Regions from separate parts of the Homo sapiens genome. Here regions 2 and 3 are each linked to region 1. The links are contacts of gene promoters, found by promoter capture Hi-C in human tissues and cell types (Jung and others, 2019). All regions are on one chromosome and are shown on one strand. The core of a region is centred on a gene start or on the middle of the fragment in contact, and the rest is flanking DNA. Distances in the headings are between cores, read along the strand shown. Region 1 overlaps RETREG3 (reticulophagy regulator family member 3). Region 2 holds the start of STAT5A (signal transducer and activator of transcription 5A). Region 3 holds the start of IFI35 (interferon induced protein 35).

Region 1 (3,763 bases), core at 33-2,532:
TTGGGATCTGCTTTTTGCAGTCACTAGTCTCAGTGAACCATACTGTATTTCTAGGAGGTTATTATAGAATTTGTTATTTCACAAATGAAATGTAAAAATTTTATTTTTGTCCGCCCCCCCAAAAAAATAAATAAATAAAAATGACCCAAAAAAGTGATTAAGGATATACAGCAATTCTGAGTTAGAAGGTTAGGATTTGAGTAAAAAATAATAGAAACAAGAAATGGAAGATGGGGAGCCCATTTAAGTAGAGATATTTGTTCTGTTAAAAAAAATCTACACATCTGATTTCTTTTCTTTTTTTTTTTTTTGAGACGGAGTCTCGCTCTGTCGCCCAGGCTGGAGTACAGTGGCGCGATCTCGGCTCACTGCAAGCTCCACCTCCCGGGTTCACGCCAGTCTCCTGCCTCAGCCTCCCGAGTAGCTGGGACTACAGGCGCCCGCCACCATGCCCACCTAATTTTTTGTATTTTTAGTAGAGACCGGGTTTCACCGTTTTAGCCAGGATGGTCTCAATCTCCTGACCTCGTGATCCGCCCGCCTCGGTCTCCCAAAGTGCTGGGATTACAGGCGTGAGCCACCGCGCCCGGCTACACATCAGATTTCTAATGAAATCTGTTGAGTGAATGTTCCTGATGATAGTCTTTGCAGGGTTCTTGTCTTTGTGAGCCGAGAAGACTCCCAAGGATGCCTTGGTTTATTTACTTCCCCTCTCTTTACCTTTAGTTTTTATCTGCCCTAATTGTATGGTTGAGTGCTTTCTCTCCACTGTTAGCAGCTAGCTGATTTCATTTCTGGTTTTTTTGCAAGCAACAACTGTCACTGCATGATATAGGTTGGGTTAATTTTTCCTTTGAATTTACCGGTGACTTGGGCTCATTAACCAGGCGGTCACAAGTGCTGTACAGTAACAGGCTTTCTGTCCCTGTAGAATGGGATGCTTTGTTTTGAAGTGCCCTTGAGACAATCTTAATCTGTAATAACAAAGGAACCTAGAAATCATGTCTTTGAAAATAGACATGTGGTCATTATTTATGATTATAGCAAACTTTAATTTACTGGTACTAATAGTGAGGCTCCATGGTATAGTTAATCACAAAAGTTTATGTTTGGTTCTGGAATTTCTCACGATGTTTCTGGACACCAATTGCTATTCCAGGGATATTTTATTTAGACTGATCATTTAATTGGATTTTAGTCCCTGACAGAGTGGAGGGACAGTTCACAAAAGGGGAAAAAAAAATCAATGGATATATAAAATTTCACTCTCACAAATAAGAAAAGAATTCAAATATATGTAAATGGAAATTATTTACTAATTTCTATCTTAAGTTTTTTTTTTGGCGGGGGACAGGATCTCACTGTCGCCCAGGCTCGAGAGCAGTGGTGTGATCATGGCTTATTGCAACCTCAACCTCTGGGCTCAAGCCATCCTCCCACCTCAGCCTCTCAGGTAGTGGGGACTACAGGTGTGTGTCACCACACCTGGTTAATTGTTTTGTATTTTTCGTAGAAACAAGGTTTCACCATGTTGCCCAGGCTGGTCTTGAACTCCTGGGCTCCAGCAGTCCACCCACCTTGGCCTCCCAAAGTGCTGGGATTACAGGTGTGAGCCTCCACACCTGGCCTTAAGTATTTTTAATGATCATAATTAATTCTGGGGAAAATATGGAAAAATGGGCATATGGCTGATAGGAACATAAATTGGACAGCCTTTCTAGCAAGTAGTTTGGTAACATATTTTAAGCCACTTAAGAAGCTTTTCCAGGGCTGGGGGAAATGGAGAAAGAATACTAATGGGTATGGGTTTCTTTTGGAGTGATGAAAATGTTCTGAAATTACATAAGGCTATTAGTCGTACAGCATTGTGATTTTTTTTTCATCTCTGCTGCTGGCAGATGAATTGAAAGAGAATTTTATCGTATACAAACCATTATCTCAATAAAGCTATTTTCTTACTTTTTTTTTTTTGAAACGGAGTCTTACTCTGTGGCCCAGACTGGAGTGCAGTGGCATGATCTCAGCTCACTGCAACCTCTGCCTCCCAGATTCAAGCAGTTCTCCTGCCTCAGCCTCCCAAGTAGCTGGGACTACCGGCGTGCACCACCATGTCTTGGCTGATTTTTGTATTTTTAGTAGAGATGGAGTTTCACCATGTTGGCCAAAGTGGTCTTGAACTCTTGACCTCAAGTGACCCACCTGCCTCGGCCTCCCAAAGGCTGGGATTACAGGTGTGAGCTACGGTGCCCGACCAATAAAGCTATTTGTTTAAAATAGTTAATGCCTTTGACCCAGTAACATGCTCAGTGATGTATAGTTCAGCTTTTATTACATCAAAAAATTGGAAACTTTTGGCTGGGCGCAGTGGCTCATGCCTATAATTCTCAGCACTTTGGGAGGCCGAGGCAGGCAGGTCACCTAAGGTCGGGAATTCAAGACCAGCCTGACCAACAATGGAGAAACCCCATCTCTACTAAAAATGCCAAATCAGCCGGGCATGGTGGCGCATGCCTGTAATCCCAGCTACCTTGGGAGGCTGAGGCAGGAGAATCCGTTGAACCTGGGAGGCAGAGGTTGTGGTGACCCGAGATCGCGCCACTGCACTCCAGCCTGGGCAACAAGAGCAAGACTCCGTCTCAAAAAAAAAAAAAAAAAAAAAGTTGGAACCTTCTTAGTTTATTTTTCGTTTATTTTTCTTTTCTTTTTTTTTTTTGAGAGAGTCTCGCTCTGTCTGTTGCCCAGGCTGGAGTGCAGTGGCGCGATCTCGGCTCACTGCAAGCTCCGCCTCTCAGGTTCACGCCATTCTCCTGCCTCAGCCTCCCGAGTAGCTGGGACTCCAGGCGCCCACCACCACTCCCGGCTAATTTTTTGTATTTTTTAGTAGAGCCAGGGTTTCACCGTGTTAGCCAGGATGGTCTCGATCTCCTGATCTCGTGATCTGCCTGCCTCAGCCTCCCAAAGTGTTGGGATTACAGGCTTGAGCCACCGTCTTAGTTTATTTTATTTTATTTGAGATGGAGTCTTCCTGTGTTGCCCAGGCTGGAGTGCAGTGGCACAATCTCAGCTCACTGCAACCTCCGCCTCCCGGATTCAAGCAGTTCTCCTGCCTCAGCCTCCTGAGTAGCTGGGATTACGGGCACCCGCCACCATGCCTAGCTAATTTTTGTATTTTTAGGTAGAGATGGGGTTTCACCATGTTGGCCAGGCTGGTCTTGAACTCCTGATGTCAAGTGATCTACCTGCTTCAGCCTCCCAAAGTGCTGGAATTACAGGTTTGAGCCACTGCGCCTGGCCCATTCATTGTTTTTTTTGAGAGAAGGTTTCACTCTGTCACCCAGGCTAGATTGCAGTGGTGTGATCATGGCTCACTGTACCCTGGAACTCCTGAGCTCAAGTGATCATTCCACCTCATGGCTGATGAGACCACAGGAGTTCATCACCACATCAGGCTAATTGTCTATGTATTATGTGAAAAAGTTTTAAAACCATAGTGTTTTTATATGTGAATTTTTTAATGAAGAGAATAGCCTGTCTTCACACTTTTTAGAGTACATATGTGGATAATGGATCATTTTAAAAATATTTTATTATGGAAAGCTTAAAACATGTGTAAGTAGGCAGAATAATATTGTGTGCCACCATGTACATAATATTATTTTTTTCAATTCCTGGCCAATTTTGTGTCTTCCATACCCCAGTTCTTTTCTACGTCTTCCTTATTGTTTGACACAAATTATTGATGTGTCATATCATTTAATCTAGG
Region 2 (3,916 bases), core at 288-2,787, 310 kb after region 1:
GCCTACACCCACCTGGAGCTGCGTGGCGTAGTGCCCCAGCTTGATCTTCAGTAAAAACCCATCTTCCCCCACCTGGTGCTCCGCCTTCTTCTGCAGCTCCTGCACCAGGCCCTCCAGGAGCTGGGTGGCTTGGGCTCTGTCCTGGGGATTGTCCAAGTCAATGGCATCCCTTGGGGCAGGGCAGAAGAGAAAAACCTACTGTGGCACCTCCTTGGGCAAGGAGGTCAGGGAGCTGGAATAAAGTGGAAACCCCAGGCTCATGACCGAGGGCACTCCAGGGCCCACAAGACTTGTTCCCAGCAGCTCCACAGACATCCGAGTCTAAAAACATTCTCTGTCCTCCCAGGCTTCCCCTTTCCCAGGGGCACCACCCCTTCCGCACAAAGAAGGACAGGCAGGACCAGAGTCACACCAAACCACCATGAGTAAAACTAGAGGCCAAAGGGCCTGGATGGTAGGGACCCTCTGAGGAGGGGCAGGGCGGGACGTGCCTACCATGGCTGGCTCTCAATCCACTGGGCCAAGTAGTGCCGGACCTCGATGGGGAAGTGCTGGCCGTACAGCACCTGCATCTGGCGCAGCGCGTCTCCCTGCAGCTGCTGGGCCTGGATCCAGCCCGCCATGGCCGTTCACCTAGGGCGAGCCGAGCGCTGAAGCGCTCTCCTCTGCAGAGGCCAAGGAACCGGGCCTGCCCCTGGCCTTGCCATGCCTACCTATCCCTGGACCGCGGCCAGGCCAGGCCCCTCCCCTCCCACAGATAGCTTTCCTGTGCGGGAACAGAGATGGTGAGGAGTGGAGGGCCGCCCATCCCCTCCAACAAGGAACCCGCTGAAGGGGAGGGGAAGGTGCTCTGCAGAGGCAGGTGCCCTCCCCGTCTTCCTCTCCCCTCGCCCCACCGGAGCTTCCCTAGTGAGGGGGACGGCCAGAAACTGAAAGAGAAACTTGACGGCGGGAGGCCCACAGGCCCCCTGGAGAGGGCTGCAAGGATCCCCCAGCCCACCTCGGGCCCGGTTTCTGGGAAGGGGAGATATTCCAACCCGAAGTTAGGCCAGCGCCACGACGGCTCCCACTCGACGGCTAGGGCTTTTCGGGCACGTGGCTGGGGCTGTTCAGGAGACAGGGCTGAGGACTTGGGCGCTCCCCTCTTCGGCTGCTCCCCCATCTGTGCACTAGTGCCTCCCCGGGTCCAGCCCGACAGGTGCTCCCTCTCCGAGGCGTGCCAGGACGGCGCCCTCCCTGGCCTCTGCCTTTCATCCCCGACCCCTGTCCCCACGTCCCCCCGTCCCTCGTCTGCGCTGGGCCAACTCCCTCGCAGTGCCGGGGACTGATCCCCGCGCTGCGCCCGGCCGTCGAGCTCCGGGTGCCGGAGGTGCCGGGGCGGCAGTAGAGTGTCCCCTCTCGGCGCGCCGCCGAGGACGCGCCACCGGGTCACCCACCTGGTGGGGCCGCACCGTCCGGCAGCCGGGCCGGCTCTGCGCCCCGCGGCTCTCGCTCCCGGCCGGGGTTCCTGGCGGCGGCGGCAGCGGCGGCTGTTACTACAGGAAGGAGCGGAGAGCAGCGATTTCCTCCTCAAAGGTCAGCTGCCTGCGATAGACCATACACAGCGCGCGAGCCCGCGCCAGCAGCCCTCCCAGCCCCGCTTGCTCCCTCCCTGCCTCGCCCTCAGTCGCCGGCTCCCCTGCAAGTGCGCAACAGCGGCGGCCGTTCCCGGCGGGCGGCGCCGGGCGTGGGGGCTGCCCCGACGGCGGGGTCCCCCGGGAGTCCCAGCAGGCCCTCGGCGGCGGCTCCCAGGGAGCGTCCCGGAACCGGGGCGGGTCAGAATAGCCGGGGGAATGTGGTTGTCGGGCGTTGCCGGGAAATCCCGGGCTCTGGAAATCCCAAACCTGGGCCTCAGTTTTCTCATCCGCAAAAAGGGAGGAGGGAAAAGTGGACCAATTGGCGACGCCTTCCAGCTCTGGCGCGTGTCATCTTTTGAGCCCCTAGATTAAAAAATAAATGTGTGGGGTGTGTGTGTGCACGCGCGTGTGTGCGCATGTGTGTCTTGGGGGCCACAGGTTTTGTGACCTCAGAGACAAAACTGTAGAGAGGGGAAGAACTGGGGATTCTAGTGAAGCCAAGATCACCCCCACCACCGCAGCACCTCCCTCCTTCTTTTACTCCGGCCATCTAAACTCAACCCTGACGGAGGAACTGGAAAGAATCTTGGCAGTCATGTGTTTCAGCCCTCCCCCTCTCCACAATTTTGCAGGTAAGAAATGGAAGTCCTGAGAGGGAAAGGGGCTTGCCCGGGGCCACCCAGGGCCACACAGTAGGCACGTGGCCTCACCAGCCGACTGTGATCCATAAACTAGCCAGCGCCCCCGTTCACCCAGCCTAGTTACTTATGAGGCTGGTTCTACCTTCAGAAAAGTCCAGGGAGGGACCGTCTTGAGTCCTCCTAACTTCGAAACTCTCTACAGGCCTTGCCACAGCAGTGAATATCCTGTCTAGAGCCTCAGTCCCCCTCTCCAAGAGGCCCCTTCCCACGAGGCCCAAGGGGTTTGGTAAGGTCGGGCTGGACGCCTTCCATCCCCTTTGCCCAGCTTCCCTCTCCTCTGGGCCTCCCCTCTGCCTGGCAGCGGGTTGGCAGCACCAGAGGAGGGGCCAGCCCAGCTGCCCACTCACAGCACAGCTGGGCCAAGACTGCATGTTCTGTTGGGGGGGGTGCATTCTCATCTGCCTCCCTCCCCAGCTGCTTCTCAGAGCTGCCCTTTTCTCTCCATTTCCACTCTCCTTTCTTGCCCCTTACTACCTCTCCCAGTTTCATTCTTTTAACTTCAGAGGAAAAAAAAAAAAAGAACTTCAAAGCTGCAGAAGCCAAAATGTCTGCGTTCTCCCCACCTTCTCTGTGTGGTCACAGTGTCTTAGTTGGCAGGATCACGAGGAAAGGAATTGAAAACTCTAAGGGGGTGCATGGAGGATGTAGGGAAGCCTTGCTTCCCAGATGCTCTGCAGGGGGCCCCAGGGAGGAGGAAGTATAGTCCCTCTCCTCTCCTTTCCCACTCTGAGCAATGGATTTGGCAGGGGAGGGTCAGACACAGAGCTAGGGGGTCAACTGGAATGAAAGCCAAGTGCCACAGCTGGAAGTGACCATAAAGATGATTTTACAAGTGGAAAAACAAAGGCCAGAGAGGGGAAGTGACTTTGCCACCGTCATGCAGCCTGTCGGTGGCTGGATACAAACCCATTGCCACATTTGGGTGGGTCCCACTTGGCACCTGTGCCCTCCAGCAGTTCCCTTCAGGCAGGTGTGGAAGTCAGTTGATGGGAGCAGATTCCTCAGGTTTTCAAGTCCTCTCACCCAGGTCTGGAGGGCAGAGGGCCACCCTTGCCATGCACTGACATCTGGGCACCTGATGGGGTGGGGGTGCCTGCTTAAGAGAGGGGGTCCTGCCTGCTCTCTTCCAGGCAGCCACCTCTCTAGACTTCTCCTCCAGGGCCTGCAGAGGCCTGTTGCTCCAGCAGGCAGCCCCACCCACCAAACATCTGTCTTGGTTGGGCCGGGCTTGGCTTTAGTGTGGGTAGTCCTAGGTCCTAAAAAGCTAGCATTGAGGTGCCAGAGTACAGAATGGGAAGGATGGGCCTAAAAGGGTGTGTGGCTGTGTTTTCAGAGCCCTCCCGTGCCTCCCACCCTGACCCTGTGCCCAGTGGCTGTGCCCTTGGTTGACCATCCCTCATTTGGTCTCTGACTGTAAGGCCCCGAATATCTGTGTCTTTCATTGCACATTTCCCCTTCTGGGTTTTTTTTTTTTTTTTTTTTTTGAGATGGAGTTTCGCTCTCGTTGCCCAGACTGGAGTGCAATGGCGCGATCTTGGCTCACAGCAACCTCCACCTCCAAGGTTCAAGCGATTCTCCTACCTCAGCCTCCCGAGTAGC
Region 3 (3,448 bases), core at 769-3,268, 400 kb before region 1:
CCTGTAATCCCAGCACTTTGGGAGGCTGAGGCAGGCGGATCACGAGGTCAGGAGTTCGAGACCATCCTGCCTAACACAGTGCAACCCCATCTCTACCAAAAATACAAAAAACTAGCTGGGCGTGGTGGCGGGTGCCTGTAGTCCCAGCTACTTGGGAGGCTGAAGCAAGAGAATGGCATGAACCCATGGGGCGGAGCTTGCTGTGAGCCGAGATCCTGCCACTGCACTCCAGCCTGGGTGACAGAGCGAGACTCCATCTCAAAAAAAAAAAAAAAAAAAAAAAATGAGCCAGGCGTGGTGGCATGTGTGCCTATAATCCCAGCTACTTGGGATGCTGAGGCAAGAGAATCACTTGAATCTGGAAGGCAGAGGTTGCAGTGAGCCAAGATCATGCTATTGCACTTCAGCCTGGGCAACAAGAGTGAAACTCCATCTCAAAAAAAAAAAAAAAAAAAAAAGGAAAGAAAAGTCCGGGCATGGTGGCTTACACCTGTAATCCCAGCACTTTGGGAGCTTGAGGGGGGCAGATCACGAGGTCAGAAGATCAAGACCATCCCGGCTAACACGGTGAAACTCCATTTCTACTAAAAATACAAAAAATTAGCCAGGCATGGTGGAACGTGCCTGTACTCCCAGTTACTTGGGAGGCTGAGGCAGGAGAATCGCTTGAACCCGGGAGGCAGAGGTTGCAGTGAGCCGAGATCATGCCACTGTACTCCAGCCTAGGAGACAGAGTGAGACTCCGTCTCAAAAAAAAAAAAAAAAAAGGGATTGTCCTTGGGGAACTGGGGTTCTGAAAAGGTTGGCAATAATAATATTAAGAAGAAACACATATTGAATGCTCTGTAGGTGCTAAGCAGTGGGATAAGTTTTTACCGTGTTAATCTATGGATTACCTAGTGTGATTCTTAAAGTATAATTCTTATAGTATATATATATATATATATATATATAAATTTTGTGTGTGTGTGTGTGTGAGAGACAGTCTCCCTCTGTTGCCCAGAGTGGAGCATAGTGGTACAATCTCGGCTCACTGCAACCTCTGCCTCCCAGGTTCAAGCAATTCTCCCGCCTCAGTCTCCCTAGTAGCTGGGATTACAGGTGTGTGCCACCATGCCTGGCTAATTTTTGTGTTTTTAGTAGAGATGGGGTTTTGCTATGTTGGCCAGGCTGGTCTCGAACTCCTAACCTCAAGTGATCCACACGCCTCAGCCTCCCAAAGTGCTGGCTGGGATTACAGGTGTGAGCCAACACACCCAGCCTAATTCCTTTAGTTTAATTTTTTTTTTTTTTTTTTTAGACAGAGTCTCGCTGTGTCACCCAGGCTGGAGTGCAGTGATGCAATCTCGGCTCACTGCAACCTCCGCCTCCCAGGTTCAAGTGATTCTCCTGTCTCAGCCTCCCAAGTAGCTGGGATTACAGGCGCACACCACCACACACAGCTAATTTTTTGTATTTTAGTAGAGACGGATTTTCACTGTATTGCCAAGGCCTCCCAAAGTGCTAGGATGACAGGCGTGAGACACCACGCCCGGCCTAGAACAATTGTTATTTGGGTCACAGAACCCGCTGAGTATCTGATGGAAACTACAGATTCTCTCTCCAGAGAAGTGTACACACACAGGATTTAATGAGCTCCTCCTGTCTGAGGCAATAGGTTAGGGAACCAACTCTTGCAGAGGCAACCCCAGCCCTGTGTTTCTCCCCAGCCCTTCAGCAGGTCTGAGATGGGCAGGGTGAGGCTTGGCTGCCAGGCCCTGAGATATCTGCAGGTTCCTAGCCAAGAGGATTACTCCTGTTTCCCCACTTCCCAACTCCCTCCTCCTCACTTACGGCATCCAGTGGGGCTGACATGGGTCTCGGGTCTGTTTGGCAAGAGCTGAGGCTTCAGAGCTGGGCACAGTGGCAGAATTCACAGCAACTGAACTCTTGTTTGTACCCCCCAAAGGGCTGTGGTCTCTCTCAGCCCCAGCAAGACCCGAAATACACCTCAGGAGGCTCTGCTCGCAGGCTGTTTGCTTCCACTTTCATTTCCGTGAAATCCCTGCCTTCTGGCGCTCACATGCCGCCCCCTGCCGAGGCTTCCCCACCCCTGGGAGGAGCCTTCTTGGTCAGCAAAGTCGACTTCACTCAGCCAGGCTGCCTCAAGGAAAGCCACCTCACCCCAACTGCAAACTGGCCCCCATCAACCATTCCCAGCAATCTCCGACAAGCCCATTGGTAGACCCTGCTTTGTCAATGGATTATTTCCCTAGAGCCTAGAATAATGCTGGGCACATTGAACATTGATAAAATAATTGCTGAATGAGCTGGGTGCGGCGGCTCACACCTGTAATCCCAGCATTCTGGGAGGCCCAGGCGGGCAGATCACCTGAGGTCAGGAGTTAGAGACCAGCCTGGCCAACATGGTGAAACCCCACCTTTACTAAAAAAATACAAAAATTAGCCGGGCGTGGAGGTGCATTCCTGTAATCCCAGCTACTTGGGAGGCCGAGGCAGGAGAATAGCTGGAACCCGGAGGCAGAGGTTGCATTGAGCTGAGATGGTGCCATTGCACTCCAGCCTGGGTGACAAGAGTGAAACTCCATCTCAAAAAATAAATAAAACAATAATTGCTGAATGAATGAGAAACACAGTCAGGACAGATAACGCCCATAGTTCAAGTTCACAAAACTGCCGGGTGCGGTGGCTCACACCTGTAATCCCAGCACTTTGGGAGGCCCAGGTGGGCAGATCACCTGAGATCCCAAGTTAGACACCAGCCTGGCCAACGTGGTGAAACCCCGTCTTTACTAAAAAAATACAAAAATTATCCGGGTGTGGTGGTGTATTCCTGTAATCCCAGCTACTTGGGAGGCCGAGGCAGGAGAATAGCTGGAACCTGGGAGGCAGAGGTTGCATTGAGCCAAGATCGCGCTGTTGCACTCCAGCCTGAGTGACAAGAGCGAAACTCCATCTCAAAAAATAATAATTGCTGAATGAATGAGAAACACAATCAGGACAGATAAAGTCCACAGTTCAAGTTCACAAAACTGCCAGGCGCAGTGGCTCATGCCTTGTAATCCCAGCACTTTGGGAGGTCCAGGCGGGTGGATCACGAGACCATCCTGGCCACCATGGTGAAACCCTGTCCCTACTAAAATACAAAAAATTAGCCGGGCCGGATCACACCACTGCACTCCAGCCTGGGCAACAGAGTGAGATTCTGACTAAAAAAAAAAAAAAAGTGCCAATCCCAGCAGCTGGGCCCACTGGTAACATGTGCCTATAGTTCCAGCAGGTTGAGGCAGGAGGACTGCTTGAGCCCAGGAGTTCGAGGCCAGCCTGGGCAACACAGTGAATCTTGTCTCTTAAAAAAAAAAAAAAAAAAAAAAAAAAGGCTGGGTGCAGTGGCTCACGCCTGTAATCCCAGCACTTTGGGAGGCTGAGGCGGTGAATCACTTGAGGT

The links. The method cuts DNA at HindIII sites, captures the fragments that hold promoters and counts their contacts. A contact is called where the count stands out against the background at its distance.
Region 2: a contact is called between the fragment with the promoter of STAT5A here and a fragment that was not itself captured in region 1, in 2 of the 25 tissues and cell types used here (dorsolateral prefrontal cortex and lymphoblastoid cells).
Region 3: the fragment with the promoter of IFI35 here is called in contact with a fragment that was not itself captured in region 1 in 1 of the 25 tissues and cell types used here (spleen).

The regions. Positions count from the first base shown.
Region 1 is chr17:42,600,525-42,604,287 of GRCh38, reverse strand. The region is part of intron 1 of RETREG3 (reticulophagy regulator family member 3); the gene reads left to right. Among named protein-coding and RNA genes, the nearest start is that of RETREG3, 7.0 kb to the left of the region's middle. The HindIII fragment of the contact is 8,726 bases long and covers 1-3,763 here.
Region 2 is chr17:42,286,119-42,290,034 of GRCh38, reverse strand. STAT5A (signal transducer and activator of transcription 5A) reads right to left here and starts at 1,537. Exons shown (of 19, transcript NM_001288718.2): 1 at 1,437-1,537; 2 at 496-633; 3 at 13-169. The coding sequence starts at 623. It also overlaps a transcript of STAT5B not described here. RefSeq lists enhancers at 474-533, 1,980-2,480, 2,764-2,823 and silencers at 1,184-1,863, 1,884-1,963. The HindIII fragment of the contact is 10,924 bases long and covers 1-3,916 here.
Region 3 is chr17:43,005,354-43,008,801 of GRCh38, reverse strand. IFI35 (interferon induced protein 35) reads right to left here and starts at 2,018. Exons shown (of 7, transcript NM_001330230.2): 1 at 1,834-2,018. The coding sequence starts at 1,854. RefSeq lists an enhancer at 1,849-2,158. The HindIII fragment of the contact is 8,301 bases long and covers 1-3,448 here.